Linked DNA regions of Homo sapiens: region 2 is linked to region 1. Evidence: promoter capture Hi-C in 16 types of primary human blood cells and fetal thymus (Javierre and others, 2016). All regions are on one chromosome and are shown on one strand. The core of a region is centred on a gene start or on the middle of the fragment in contact, and the rest is flanking DNA. Distances in the headings are between cores, read along the strand shown. Region 1 holds the start of CELF3 (CUGBP Elav-like family member 3). Region 2 overlaps LINGO4 (leucine rich repeat and Ig domain containing 4).

The links. Contacts are between HindIII fragments. The CHiCAGO score rates a contact against its expected background, and 5 or more counts as called.
Region 2: a fragment that was not itself captured here is called in contact with the fragment with the promoter of CELF3 in region 1 in 2 of 17 cell types (erythroblasts and M1 macrophages); the score reaches 5.8 in erythroblasts.

What each region holds. Positions count from the first base shown.
Region 1 is chr1:151,712,789-151,720,521 of GRCh38, forward strand. CELF3 (CUGBP Elav-like family member 3) reads right to left here and starts at 4,015. Exons shown (of 13, transcript NM_007185.7): 1 at 3,088-4,015; 2 at 1,806-1,888. The coding sequence starts at 3,232. It also overlaps a transcript of RIIAD1 not described here. RefSeq lists an enhancer at 3,945-4,239. The HindIII fragment of the contact is 2,919 bases long and covers 1,982-4,900 here.
Region 2 is chr1:151,794,018-151,801,750 of GRCh38, forward strand. It overlaps LINGO4 (leucine rich repeat and Ig domain containing 4), which reads right to left. Exons shown (of 2, transcript NM_001004432.4): 2 at 6,247-7,733. The coding sequence ends at 6,906. It overlaps TDRKH-AS1 (TDRKH antisense RNA 1), which reads left to right. Exons shown (of 2, transcript NR_146292.1): 2 at 1-385. Among named protein-coding and RNA genes, the nearest start is that of TDRKH-AS1, 7.1 kb to the left of the region's middle. The HindIII fragment of the contact is 189 bases long and covers 3,998-4,186 here.

The DNA.
Region 1 (7,733 bases), core at 2,765-5,264:
AGAGGGGGCTAAATGTCTGATTTTTTTAAAAAAACCTGCAGTAGGAAGGCATGGAGATTAAACAGTAGGAAGAACAGTTATGCAGGAGCTGACACACTGCACACACATGCGTGTGCATGCACACACACTCATGCATGCACACACACACTGCATGCACACACACGTGCAAACACACACTGAGGGGAGAATGCAGGTAGCAGGAGAAGACTTAGGGAAGACAAAGGGTCACAGACATCTGCTCCCCACAACTGCCCTGGGTCTGTTCCTTCAAACCCCTTGGATGGGGGTCCCTCTTGGAGGATGGAACCCTCATTTCCTACTGGAAGCTGTGTCAGGTCCCTCTGGATTCTGTCCCCTGGGACAAGGGCTAAAGTGGAGAATTCAGCGTCACCTAGAAGCTCTGGAGAAGGGCTAGACAATCATTAACCAGGCGCCCTTCTTCCTCACCCCCACCCTGGGCTGGACTTCCTCAAGAAGGGCAGGTGGTGCCTCTCCACACCCAGGATGGAGCTCTGCCTGAGCTGCCAGGCAGCTGGAGGGGCACAGACCTAGGGTGGACACCTGCAGCTGGTACACATGACCTTTGGGGCTCATGCCCATCCCCAGGCTGTCTCTCATCCATGTCTCCACTCCAGTCCTCTTTATCTACCTTTTCCTCTGACCCCCTCTCATTTCTGCAGGGGCTCTGAGATAGGGAGACAACAGAAAAAGACAAACAGCGATGGAGATGAAAACTGTTGATTTGTGAGGGGCCTCCACAGAGAAAAACAGGGAAGGCAAGTTGGGACTGGATGGGGACCAAGCTTCCCAGGGATACGTGTGCCCAAACCCCACACATCTGGCCTGTCAAGAGCTCACATGCCTGTGTGCACAAACACACGCTCGCCTTGGGTCCTGCAGCTCACACACGTGCATGGCCCTTAACTCTGGCTGTGACAGGCAATGCCTATTCTTGACACTGACTGGGATAAGATCTTTGGTGGGCGTGGGGGTTTGGGTGGATTTGCCGCAGTTGGCTTTGCTTTCCTAGCAGTACTCAAAGGTTGAGGCCATGGAAGGGCTTGGGACAATCAGCAAGGCTGGCTGGGAAGAAGACACAAAGAGATAGGACCTTGCAGGAGAGGGGCCACCTCTGAGGCCACCCCTGCCTCCCTGGGCATACCTGGTGGCATCAGGCCTGATCCTCTACAATGTCTGTCCCTGCCCTTGCCTGCTACTTCCAGGCCTACCTCCAGCCCAGACCTGCCCAGGCCTGCCCAGGCCCTGCTCTACCCTGATGCTCTGTGGCTCTGTTCCTGGGACTCTTCCTGGGAGACAGAAGGGAGATGAGAGCTCAAGAACCAGCACCGAGATGCCAATCTAGCCGGCACCAGCTGCCTGTTCTCTGGGCACTCCTCCCTCATCTCACAGCCACCCAGCCTGCCTTTCCAGAGTGACAAAAGAGTGCCTGGGTGCCCCCTGCTCACCCTGATCCACACTTGGTGTCCAGAGACTTTTCCCCACACCTTCCAACCAGCGAGTCCTCCCTCTAGTGTTGCCCCATGGGCAGCTTGGGAAGTGGGGAAGGGGCTGCATCTGCTCCTGGTAAAAGTCATGTTTACGCCACTAATCGCTGCTTTCCTTCTCTCCAGGTAACAAGAAATGCATGCATCTACAGCAAGAAAGATGGATGCTACAGAGAGAGAGGGGGACTTCCTGGTGATGAGAGGAGGTGGAAATTATGCTCAGTGTCAGGAGGGTGGTGAGCCTCCTGCCACTTCTATGGCCCTTCTCAGTCCCCTGGCCCTGCAAAGGGCAGGACTCACCCCTGGAAGCGTCTTCTGTTCGTGCAGGGCGCTCTGGGCCTTCAGGGCTGAATCCCGGGCACAGTATGTCAGGAAGGCACATCCTGAGGAGGGGCAGGGGCAGAGAAACACGGCGGGGGGTGAGTCCTCCATCTCCCCTCTCTGAAAGGCTCCCTTCCAAAGACTGACGACTGGGAAGCTTTCCCTTCTTGTCATCTTCTGCCTGCTGGGGTAGAGAGGTGTCTCCAAGGGGTAGACTCTCTGCCCCAGAAGTGGGGCAGACACCTGGAGGCCTAAATACTGGTGGTGATGGGAGAGGGAGGACACTTGGGCTGTCAGGAGATGGGCTTTGTGTAGGGAGAGAAGGACCATGTGACCGCCAGACAAGTAAGAGTAGTGTGGCTTTCTCTCCTGCTGAGCTGTTCTCCTTTCCCCTCTCTCCCTCACCTCCACCTCCCTCCATCTTGATCACCATCATCCCTCTCTTCTCCCATTTTCCCTATTTCCTCATCTCTCCCCACCTCCACCATAGGCAGGTGGAGGACGGAGAGTGAAATAGAGAAGGGAAGGGAAGAACAGTTAGTTAGCCGGAAGTGCCTCTTCCCTGTGCCAGGTGGAGGGGGAGCTGGTGTGGCCCCTGGGATCCCCGGTGTGTGGAGCTCTCCAAGTGCTGACCCTGACCGCCCCCACTTAGCCGCACAGCCCTTGGATAGGCCTGAGGAGCACCCTCCCTTCTCCCCCACTCTCTTAACTTTCTAAGCCTCCCACACTTTCCAGATCTTTACCAATCTCCAGCCTTCATGCCCTGCTTCCTAGTCCCTCTCTTTAGTCCTGGAGCTGCCCTGCCCAGTCCAGCTCCACGCTTTCCACATTGAACACCTGACCCTGTGTCCTGACCCCCATCCCAATATTATCTGAGGCTGCTCAGATTCTCAGTCTTGCTGCACACGCACACACACACACACCCCTACCCAGCTGCTTATCTCCCAAACCAGCTCTCTTGTCCCTCCATTCTTTCTTGAGTTCATCCCATGACATCAACACACCCATATGTCTGGGATCCACATCTTTGCAGCCGTCTTGACAACTCTTCAGCCAAAAGAGGCCCTCCTTAGTCCTTCACCGGGGTTTCCTGATCACTCTAGCTGAGTTCTTTTTCAGCTCCTCCATCCACTTTCCTCAGGCCTGAACTCTTCTCCTTCCACATCAGCCCTTCCCAGCCGCTCCACCCCTCCAGCCTGGCTTAACTTCCCCCAGCCTCCCAGCCCACCCCGAAGCCTCTTCAGCCTGCCCGACCCCTCACCCTTGTGCAGCCCGGTGTACTTGTCCTTGATGACAGTCAGCTCAAAGATCCGACCAAACTGTTCGAAGATGGGCTTCAGGTCCTTCTCCTCCAGATGCCTCGGGATCTGCCCCACAAACAGCTTGATGGCATCCGGCTCCTTCATTGAGGCGGCCCAGGAGGAGGGGCCGAGGGGAGCAGGGAGAGGCCCAAAGGCCAAGGGGAGCTGCCCAGCAAGGAGATAAGTGGTGGGGCCCGGGGGCCCAGCTGGGGCTGGCTTTCCCTTTGGCCCCCAACCACGCTGCTAAGCAGAGGGGCGGCTCTTCACACAAAGGAGGCCCAGGGAGTTGAGTGCTAGGGGTCAGGGGTCTAGGCAGACGCTGTCATGCCACCAGGGGGCATCGCCTAAACAAACGATCTCCCTCCCAGAGATCTGGCAAATGTCCCAGGATGGGGGTGAGTATGGCCAAGACCTGGAGGGTTAGGTGGTAGCCGGGGGTGCTAGGGCTTAGAGGGCTGGGAACTGGGAGTTGAGATGAGAGCTGGAGGCGGGGAAAGGGCCTGAGGAGGGTGATGGGGAGGAGACTGAGGGGTTAAGGGGCCTGCTATGGTTGCCAGCAGCGTCAGTAAGGGGGGCCCACTCCTGATGTGGGGCAGGTGAATCTCTCGTTGGCTTCCCTGGGAGGACACCTCCCCTGTGGCGGATCCTTCTGCTGGGTCCGAAGATCCCTGATGCCAGATGCTTGATCTCTGATGGCGGCAGGGCTCCAGGGGTCCCTTTTGCCCTGCCGCCCCCCTTCAGGTCCTCCCCTCAGCCCCCCTCCCACCCCCACCCCAGTCCCCGGGCCTGGGCTGCTGCCGGCTGCTCCCGCCGCTGGGGCTGCCTGCTTTCCCGGTCACCTGGGTCCCGGAGCTCTGCTCTCCGGCCGCGCTCTCCTCAACAAAAACCTCCCCCCTCCACACCCCCCTCCCCACTCCCACCTCCTTTCCCCTGACATCAGTGATGTCAGTCTCAGGGGTCGAATACAAATTCTCTACCCTGGAGAGGGACGCACAATCCAGGCACGAGCCACGCCCTCTTTCTATCTCCATCCTCCCTGACTCCCTTCCCGCCCCCAGAAGAGCAGCTGGTCCTGTTGATAATAACCCTTCCCCCATCTTACTCCCCAGTCAGGAGTTGGGCAAAGCACTAAGATGGAGAATTTATAGAGGAACCCTAAAGTGGGGTCCATTGTTCCGGGGGCTGGAGCTGTCCCCGGTGCTGGAAGACTCAGCAGATGGGGGGTGGCGGGGAAAGAGGGGAGCCCGGCATCTGGGGAGCCCCAAGAGTAGAGAGTCAAGGAAAGAAATCAGGGGAAAGAAAAATGAGAAAGGACGGTTGCATAGGCTGAAGGGAAAGGAGATATAGATGGAGAGGGAAGCAGGTCGCAGAGTCTGGGGGAAAAAGAAAAAATGCAGAGAGGAAAAATGGAAAGGGACGTGGAGAAGGAGGAGCAGGATGAGAAGAATGCAGAAAGAGAACTGTATATTTTCCAGAAAAGGAACCAAGAAAAACGATAGCTTTCTGGCATTTGCCGATGCCCCCTTCTCTCCCTCTGGGGGGTTTGTGTGTATAAGTGCGTGGGCAGGGAGGCCGCGGAGGCGGCGCCGCGGGCGCTCTCACTTGTAAGCTCCTTGAAGACCAGGACACCGTTTAATTCAGCATCTTACTGTTCACAGTGTCTAGCACCCTGTCTTGCTCATGCGTAGCAGGAGCTTAACAAACACTCCATGCAAACAACCTCTGACAACAGTGGATTCCTGATTCCTTCAGTGGGAAGAACCACAGCTGTCAAGCTTCCCCTTAGGATGCAGAAACCCAATTACTCTTTCCTTTGCTTCTTTCTTCAGTTGGGTTCTTTGAGTTGGACTCAAATTGAGCCAGGTAGCACAGAAGAGCAGGGGAGGCACATTCGGGGACCATTGCTCCCCTGACCATGGATACTTCTATGGATGATTGGCAGGCTCCACGATCTGGAGGGAGCGTGACCCCTCCATGCACTGGGCCCACTCAGAGCACGCCCTCAGTGCAGGGATTATCTGTGGACATCAAACCTTGTCAGTGGTGGTAGCCCTTGCTTTCTGTCAGTGCTCAGCAACGGGGGCTCTCCTGGGGCTCTGGGCTTTTGTAGAGCACCCTGTCTTCCTGTCATTCCCTTCTTCTCCCCCGGGGTAGGGCTGCTGTTTCCACAGAGGCACTCGTGTCTCTAAACTGTGTCCCAGCTGAGTCCCAGGGGCCTCCATTCCTGAGCTATCACGGCAGGCAGGCTTCTCTTCTGGAAGGGAAATAATAGTAACAGCCAGTGCTTACATGGCTCTTACAGTGTCCCAGGCTTTGTGCCAAGTGCTTTATATTTACTAACTCCTAAACCCTCACCACCCCCCTATGATGTAGATTTTGTCATCTCCAAATAGAGAGGAGGTAACCAAGACACAGAGCTGAAATAACTTGCCTAAAGCCATGCAGCTAGAAAGAGGTCTAGCTGAGACTGGAGCCTGGGCAGTCTGGCTCCTGAGTCCACGCATTTAACTCCCACATCAAACATTCCTCTTGAGAATGGGAGCAGTGGTGAAGTCTGGCCTTTCTTCCTCTTCTGTCTCCATTTAAGCCCTGGATGAGAGAGAGTCTTTCTTTTTACTGCTTGATTCTGTGGACCACCTCCCATCCTTCCTTAGCCTGTTTTTTTGTTGTGGCCTGGAGCCACGCTCTGGCAGGTGCTTGCATTTGAGTGAATGTGTATGTGTGTAGACTTGATTACACTTCATCACATGGATGCCCGGGTCCCCCAAGTAGGGTCCCCTAAGATGGGGTGGCAGTGGGGGGAGGTGCTAGAGGACTCAGTGGTGGGTGCTCAGAAGAAGCGAATGACGGCAGAGCCAGGGAATCAAGAAGGGCACACACATCTTGAAAGTAACTTTCCACTCACCTACCCCACCCCCACTGCTCCTTTCCTTGCCTTCTAATCTGATCTTGGTATTTATGGAGATGCTAAACAGATCATGTCCTCTGAGGATGGAGAAGGGGAAGACCCTATGGCCCTGTTGATCTCATTACTCTATGTCTTCTCAGCAGATCTGCCGCCCTGCTGCTCATTCAGGCTTGGGGCTAATCATATTAATTGAAATATTAAACATTCACAAAAATGAATTAAAATGAACTCCCCTCACTCCTCCTCCCAGTCAGTAATTGGGGAGACAGCTGCAGACAGCAAAATGCGTCCAGTCCTTTGCTTAGTTTGTGGTCCCCAAAGGTGTCAGTCTGAGAGAAGAGGCAGGGTTTAGAGGAGAAGAGTTGTACCACTCATCAGACTCTCCTTGCTGAGTGACGGTGAACACATCTCTGGTGTTCTTTCAGGCCATGGGATGGGAGTCCTGTGAGGTAAAGGCAGGGGAGCCCTGAGACTCAGATGCCTATTCTGGAAAGTTTCTCTCTAGGAGAGAGAGAGGCTTCCAGGATACTTTCTCTGCCCACCACCCCCAAGCTCACCCTCTTTTTTATTCCTCTGCAGTCAAAGCTAGGCTGCCCTACATAAAAAGATTATTGAATTTATAAAGGGAGAGCTCTGATCCTGGCTTTAGATTCTTAGGAAATGAGAAATGCTGGATAATTGGGATATTTTTCAGAAAGGGCAAAATGTGGTGGTATGTGTGGGCAGAGTGGCTAGTCATGAAGTACTTACTGGCTTCCCTGATTGAATACAGAGTGAAGACATCTGCAGCAGAATTTATGAGAGTGCACAAAGAATTGATTCTATAACCTTCCTGCCCTCAAGTGGCTTCCACCTCAAGTGGAAGGTAAGACAGGCCAACACAATACATAATAGTGAGTACTGAGACGCTGTTAAAAAAACAAAAAGTAGCCCCTCTCATACATGGGCATTTGGGTCATAGGATGTGATCAGTGAAGAAAGGCTTGATTGATTATCAAAGCACAAGAAGATCACAGATTGGCAGACGGAGGGTATCAATCATTTCCTACTTGGAGGTGGGGAGGTAGAGAACACTGTGCATGCCTGTGTGTGTTTGAGTGTGTAGGTTTGCTGGTCCAGGCTCTGGCATTGTCTAATATAATACAAGCCACATATATGGTTTAAAAATGTCTAGTAGCCATATATAAAAGCAAAAAGAAACAAGAGAAATTACTTTTAATAATAAATGTTATTTAACCTGATATATCCAAAATACTATTTCAACATGTAAATCAATTACATGTTATTAATGAGATTTTTTTCATACCAAGCCTTCAAAATCCTGTGTGTATTTTATATTTGCTGCACATTTAACACCTACAGCCACTTTTCAAGTGTTCAAGAGCCACAGGTGGCTTGTGGTGACTGTACTGGCTGGCACAGCTCTGGAGGTGCCACCACCAGCTTCTCTGGAGGGAGTATGGGGAGAAAAGACAGATCTTGGCCAAGAGGAACCATTATCTCTGGTTAACCTCTTGCTCCTGCCGGGAAAAAAAAAATCACTTCTGACAGATGGCAGCTTATCTCTCTCTCACTCTATTAACTCTCTCTCTTAAAAAAAGACAATCAACCAAAATGATCACTAACCAAGATGGGGTTCCTGGGAAGTGGCTTGTAGCCCACTACCTAATTTACTTCTTGTGGTTTTCCCTGGCTTGG
Region 2 (7,733 bases), core at 2,842-5,341, 81 kb after region 1:
CTCCTGACCTGGTGATCCGCCCGCCTCGGCCTCCCAAAGTGCTGGGATTACAGGCATGAGCCACTGCGCCCGGCCTAAAAATTTTTTAAATTGTATACATTATGGTTTTTTTTTTTACCACAATTTAAAAAATTAATTTATAATATACATGCAGAAAAATGCACAAATGACAAGTATATATCTTGATGAATTTTCACAAATGGAATACATTTGTGTAACCAGCAGCAGATCAAGAAACAGAACATTGCTAGTGCCCCAGAAGCCACTTGTGTGTTCCCTCTCAGTCACTGCTCTTCTCAAGGACAACCACTCTTCTGACTCCTGATACCATAAACTAATTTTGCCTGTTCTTGCTTTTTATATAAAGAGAATCACAGAGTATGTACTCTTTTGTGTCTGGCTTCCTTTGTTCAAATTATTTCTGTGAGATTCAGCCATATTGTGTATAGTTTTAGTCCCTTCATTCTGACTACTGTGTGGTATAATATTGTGAGGCTATATTGAACCATAATTTACTCTTCTATTCTGTTACTGTTATTTTGGCTGGAATCACATATTTTTAGATTATCTAAAGGAGAATGTATGATAAGAATCTTCCTATCTTCCTATACATTCAAGTCATTGGTACCCCATCAGTAGAATTTTAGTTTTCATTATGTAGAATTTACATACTTCTTATTAAAATTATTCCTAGGTATTGAGTGCCTTGATTGCTATAGCTATTTTTACTTTAAAAAAAGTAAAATGGTAGTTCAAATCCAAGGAAGAATGTGTCCAGTGTTGCTATAAAAATACAGACCTACTTTATGGGTCCATCTTCTTCTAGCTCCAGTGAAGGTGGGATGGGCAAAAAAGAGGAAATGAAGTCCAAAAAGGGGGTTACACTTTATAGTTAAACCACAAGAGGAATTTATTTCTTTTTTAAGACAGAGTCTTGCTCTGTTGCCCAGGCTTGGGGCAATGGCATGATCTCTACTCACTGCAACCTCCACCTCCCGGGCTCAAGCGATCCTCCTGCCTCAGCCTCCCAAGTAGCTGAGACTACAGACATGCACCACCACACCCGGCTAATTTTTGTCTTTTTAGCAGAGATGGGGTTTCACCATGTTGCCCAGGCTGGTCTCCAGCTCCTGGGCTCAAGGCATCCACCTGCCTTAGCCTCCCAAAGTGCTGGGATTACAGGAGTGAGTCAGTGTGCTCAGCCTCACAGGAGGAATTTCTTAATCAGAGCAGTGAAAAGCCAGGTGGCATCACTTTTCCCGGATTTTTTTTTTTTTTTTTTGAGATGGAGTCTCACTCTATCATCCAGGCTGGAGTGCAGTGGCACGATCTTGGCTCACTGCAACCTCTGCCTCCCGGGTTCAAATGATCTTCCTGCCTCAGCCTCCCGAATAGCTGGGATTATAGGTGCACACCACCACACCCGGCTAATTTTTGTATTTTTAGTAGAGATGGGGTCTCACCATGTTGCCCAGGCTGATCTTGAACTCCTGATCTCAGGTGATCCACCTGCCTCAGCATCCCAAAGTGCTGGGATTACAGGTGTGAGCCACTATGATCTTATTTTAAAATGAGATTTATTTGATCTTATTTTAAAATCAGATTGAATTCTAACTTGCTGGGTAGGGAGGTTGGGGAGCAGAAGAAATAACTTCGAGTGAGCTGATGCCAAACTCACCCTCAAGTCACTGTACATTTGGGATTTGTCATCTCATTTCTCCTCTCAGATCCCAAATCAGGATTGAAAGATTGAATTGTGAGATGCTGGGATTGAGTGAATTGTAATTTCTTTATTCTCATCTCCAGTCCTAAGAGTCTATTCTCTTTCCCTGAAGGGTGTTCTGAACAGGCTGTGGGAGGCATTAGGTGGAGTGAGTTAAGATAAGTTCTGGGTTTCCCAGAGGGTTCAGTGAGCAGGTGTTCCCTTTAGTAAACTGAAGCAGGAAAGAAGATCTTAGCTAGGGATCTGGGCAGTGAGGGGCTCTGAAATACAAGGAGCCTGGCTCCGGAGCCTTGGCTGCCCACAGAGTTCCTTCCCTGTACAACATACGAATGATTCATTCAAGTGCTGTTCAGCTGTCTGAGTCTGAAAAACAGCACTCATCTCTCCTGTTGCCCATCGTAGGAGTCACCCCCTCCTCCCCACTTAAGCCTCTTCACCAGAAACCAGCGACTGGGAGCAGAGCCTTAGTGTCCTCACTTATGCTGGTGCTACTATTCAATCTTTAGGCCAGATTTAATTGTGGCAGATGCCCTAGGAAAGAATTCTCCTCAGCCTCTCTGACCACCACCACCCAGCTCTATCTTCCTACTTAATTCCCCTTACGAAGCAATTTGGAGGAACAGGACCCAGGAGTCCCTGTTTTCAGATACTCTCCAGCCTGAGTCACCACCGTACTGACTTCTTACAGCAAGAGTTCCACCCAAAGTCTCTTGCCTCTCCCTCAGATGGGTGCTGGTGGGAGAAGGGGACAGGGGAGGAGAGAATGATGGAGCATTTTTGTGTGTTTTCTTGCTGGGCCCATTGTAATACCTGCTCTTACCTGTGCTAACATCCACTTTGAACGGTAGTCCTTCTCAGCCTTTTCTCTTTGCCTCTAATGGACCCTGGGGAGCAAAGGTGGCCTGAGGCCTCAGTTTCTGCTGCAACCTGTGGCTTCTTATAGCAGAATTTTTAACCTATATTCTATGGAGTCTGTGATGGCTTCAGAATAACTGGATAATTTACAAACATTTTTGTTCACAGCTTGCATCAGGGATTCTCAGAGGGATCTGTGACTCAAAAAAAGTTGAGGATCATTGCTTAGCCGGGCTCTCATCTCCTGAATCAGGGATCCAGCACAGCACAGGAAATAGAAGTCAGAAATAGAGAAAGATTGTATGGGGGAAGGAAATGTGAAGTGCTGAGATGGTGCCACAGCATCTTTGGGTCCAGAGTTCTCTCTCAGCTTAGGTAAGACCATGTCTGAGATGGAAGAGAGAGGGGTAGAAGGAGAGCAGGATGGAATGTCCTCAGAAAGGTTCTGTCAAGCAGGGGTAGGCAGAAGGTAGGCAGAGTCAAATTCTTCTCCAATCTGAAGTAGCTCACAGATTGTTCCACCAATCTGTGCAACCTCTCTCTAACCTAGGAGGTTGTTGAGGTTAGAACCCAGAAAAGAACTAGGAAATGTGAAGCCTCCATTTCAGAGAATCCTTTGCTGGAAGCCAGGCATTTCACTGAAGTCCATTTACTCCCTGGAATTTCTGCTCCTTTCTATCAGTCCCTGAGGCAGAGGCTGTAAGGACATTGGGAGAGGGGACTGAGAAGAAAGAGTAAAAACAAAGAAAAACCCCAACATCCTGAATCAGGTGCATTAGAGTTAATGAAGAATGTAAGGACCAATAACTTAGCCCAGTCCCCACTGAAAGTTCAGAGTGGATGCATTGGAAGATTTCTCCTTTCTTACAGGTCGTGTCCTGCAACTGAAAGGCCCTGGGAGAGAGAGCCGTGAGGGCATGGCAGTGAGGATGGCAGTGTGGTGGAAAGGGGGAGTTTTCAATCAGACAGCCATGAGCTCAAATAGCTAGTTACTATTTACTAACTAGCTCTGTGCACTTGAGCACTTACTCTCTTTGACCTTTAGTTTCACCAGCTAAGATGCCTCTCTACTTTATAGGGTTGATGTAAGGATTAAATAAGAAAATATATATAAAGCCACTGACATAGAATAGGCCCTCAATAAATGTTATTTTCTTCTCTTTGAACTGCTGTCCCACCCTGGGCAGAGCCTCCATTAGATTGTCCCCATGATGTGGTACCATACATCCCTGCACATGGGCCACAAAACTTCTGCATACACACCACCCACTCATGTCCTTGGCTGCATTTGCACACTCATCAGCACACACACAGCAGCCTGTGCCATCACAGCTGAGCTGAGGGCAGTCTTCCCGACAGGTAAGATGAGGGACTGGCATGCTAACGCTTGGACAAGCTGTGGAAGTGCTCATCATAGTAAGCTTGTTTCCTGAATGGGCTTCACCCCTCAAAAGTGTTCTGGTAAAGCTGTGAAAGGAGACTAAGGGGCTGTGGTGGGACTAACTCCATAGGCATTTCCTTGAGATTAAATGTGTTTCTTGAGGGATACTTTGTCCACCCACCACTGCCAAGGAGACCTTAGTCTATACGCCAGGTTGCAATGTCTGAAGCTTTGCTGTCCAATATGGTAGCCATTGGCCACATGTGGCTATTGAATGCTTGTAAAGGTAGGTGGTACAGCTGAGGAATGGAATTTTAAATTTGTTTAATTTAAAATTTAAGACAGAGATTCGATTCAGTTATTGGAAAATGTTTTATGTTTGAAAAAACTTAGATGTGTGAATCCACTTTCTCAACAGTGACCTGTATGAAATATAGATTTTTCTGGTGAAAATTTAGTAACTGAATTGCGATGTTGAGATGTACTGTAAGTGTAAAATATACACTGGATTTTAAAGACCTAATATGAAAAAATGTTAAATATTTTATGATTGATTTTTATATTGATAATATATTGAAATGATAATAGTTTGGGTATATTGGGTTAAATAAAGTAAGTATTTAAATGTATCCGTTTCATTTTGATTTTTTAATTTAGTAGCTACTAGAAAATTTGAAATTACATGTGTGACTTAGATTCTGTGTCTGTTGGGTAGCTCTGCTCTGGAGACTTTGAGACTTCAGAGACCTTGGGCAGCAGCATGTCCCAGCACCAGACAGTCATCTGTTCCCCAGAGCGTCAGGGGCTTCCCAGAGAAGATTTCTCTGAACAGCATTGCTGCTTCCGCATTGCAGAGAGGGCAACTAGAGTGAGAACCTTCAGCGTCTGACTCCCAAGTCCCAACCTAATAAGCTGCTGGTGGAAGGTTATGGAAAGGAGCGGGAGGGCTGTGCCCCAGGAAATCTGTCTGGTACATTATACACTAAAGAAGGGGAAGTTGCTGGGATGCTGATTGAGTTGTGTGTGCATGGTGGGTGGGGAGGTTGCAGGCTCAGGGAAACTCGTTTCTCAAGCAGGTCAGTTTCTCCAGCCCCACTCTCCTGTCTGCCTGGTTCTCACATTCACCTCTGGTACTACCCCCATATTCCTATCTCTGCCCCACTAAAGAGCGGCCTGCCTGTGAAGTCCAGCTTCACCTCCTCAGTGGCTCTGAGTGTCTCATCTGTCGGGCAGTTTGAGCTGGGAATCTTCTAATGAGTGGAGTCTCCTCAGAGCAAGGACAACAGCAGCAGGAATCAACTAGAAAGCTCACAATGCTTGCATCTGGTTTGGTGTAGGGGTGGGTGGGAGGAAACTAAGGACGCTGGGTAGATGCTACTGCGCAGAAAGGCTCCCTAGGGCCACGTGATTCTTCCCTTCTCAGTCCCTCCTCCGACTCCTCTCCTCTCCCTGTCACTCCTCCCTTCCAGTGATGCTGAGGCTGTTGCTCTGTTCCTTGAGCTTCCAGCATCTCTACTTCTTTTTGGGCTCTGCTTTGCCCTCTATTTGAAGCACAGTCAGTGGTACTCAGCAGTTTCACCTCCTACTCCACCTCCCCATCTGGGGGTCTCTGTAAATCAGTGACCTCTACCCGGAGACAGCTTCCCACTGGGGCTGCACTAAGCACAGAACCAGAGGAAGCTGCAGAAGGATGGTGGAAATTAACTAGGCAGGCAGTTACTGCTGTTCCCCCTTCCCTCCACTTCTCACTACAGCCTGCTGTGCCCTCCTCCCTGTTCCTCCAAGCCTAGTCTCTGCAGTGTCCTGGGTCTCTCTCCTTTGACAACTGCGGATTCTTGTGTTTGTTAGTCATTATCTTGGAGTTCTGAGTTTTCCCCAAGGGCACTAGGGATCTGTGACGCAAAAATGATGAGGAGCTCCCATGGAGAAATGGGAAAGAGAGGCAGCAACTGGGTGTCCCAGGTGGAATTTCTATGTAGGGGTCCCCTGGAAGGTAGAGGATCGCTCCTTCTCCAGTTCCAGAGATGGGGAGTGAAAGGGAAAGGATTGAGGCTGAAACCGGGGCTAGGAGTGCTGATCCCTCCGGGCATGGAGGTGGGGGTGCAGGGCGGTGAGGAAAGTGAAGGTGGGAGGGGCACTCCTTACCCTGTTTGTCAGGCAGGTTAGATGGAGGCAATGCCATTGGGACACATAATCAATGGGCAAGCAGAAAGAGAAGGAGCTGGGGAGATATAACAGAAATGAGGGTAGGAAATAGACTGAAGTAAAGAAAACTCCAGAGATGACATTTAGTTTTGGCTGCTACTGTTGTGGCCCTTTGACAGCAGGTTTAATGATCTGGTAGATAGAGGAAGGTGGTAGAGGCTCATGCAAACACAGTGCAGTATATGGTCTGTCCTCTCCATCCCACACTCTGTCCCCATCCTCTTCTCTGTAGCCTGTGGGTCCTTTGCTCTTATTCCTGTACATAGGGGCAGGGTTGGGGTGGGGAGCAGAAAAGAAAGGGACTCTGCCTGGTTGACAAACAGACTCTAAGGAGCAAGTGGCACTTCCCAGCCCCACCTCTGAAATAATCTTATAGCCGTGGTTGGCAATTGGTTATTAAAGGATATAAGCATGTGTGAAGAAAGCCTAGTGGTTAGACTAGCTGACTAGCGCTTTGATTATGTTTCCTGTTTTGTGTGTGGAGGGGGTGAAGCAGGGGCTGGACTAACGACGGGGTCTGCATCTGCAGCTCCCTGGGACCCTCAGAGAAGAAATGACAATGCTATCCTCAGACCGGAAAAGCTCAGGAAGCAGACTCTCCGGCAGGAGGCACAACGCAGGCGGGAGGTGCAGGAGAGCGGTGCTGCTCGGGACTAGGTTCTGGTTCAAGCAGCCTTGGTTCTGTCTTCCCCTTTGGTATCTGAAGCGGACTTGGTGGGTTCCCCACTGGGGAAGGAAAGGTCAGAAGAGCTTGGCAGTGACCCGGTTACCCCCAGAGTTTTTATCCCCAGAGGGCCGAGGTGCCACAAAGTCAAAGGTCATGTGATGTTTGACCCGACCTTTGCCCTTGCTCCAAAGGGCAATCAGGCCAAAGCAGAGGGTCACTGAGGTGAGGAAGGGGAGGAAGCCGACTGCCAGCACCATGGCCACACCTCTGCTATCCAGAAAAAAAGGCCCTGGGATCCCTGGCACGGTGATGTTGGGGTCAGAAAGTGTGCCGTTTGGTGGTTCCACCTGGATGACTTCCAGCCAGGTCCTCAGGGAGTCATTCCCAGCGACATTGCTAACCACACAGACATAGGCCCCTCTGTCCCGTAGCTGCACTGAGCGGATCTCCAGTGTCCCATCCTCTAGGACCCTTACTCTCCCAGCCCTGCCCAGCCAAGCCCCATGAGGCCTCATCCAGGAGACAGTGGGGGCTGGGTCTCCATCTCCAGAGCAGGAGAAAACCGCATGCCCGCCCTCCTCTGCAATGACCCATCGAGGCCCCGACTTTCGGATCAGGGCTGGTTTGCAGGTGAAGTGCCCTGGAGGCAGGATGTCTGAAAACTCCTTCAGGCTCTTCCCCTGGACATGATGGGGGCCAGCACAGGCAGGGGGGGACATGCCAAAGTCCAGGTGGCGGCGGAGCCGGAGCAGCCAGAGGAGGCGGCAGTCACAGGTTAGGGGGTTGCCAGACAGCCTCAAGGTGACCAGTTTGTCTGGAGAAGGGAAAGCTGTTTCCTCTAGTGTCTGAAGGGCGTTATCTGCCACATCCAGGAGGTGGAAGGCAGTCAAGCCATGGAAGGC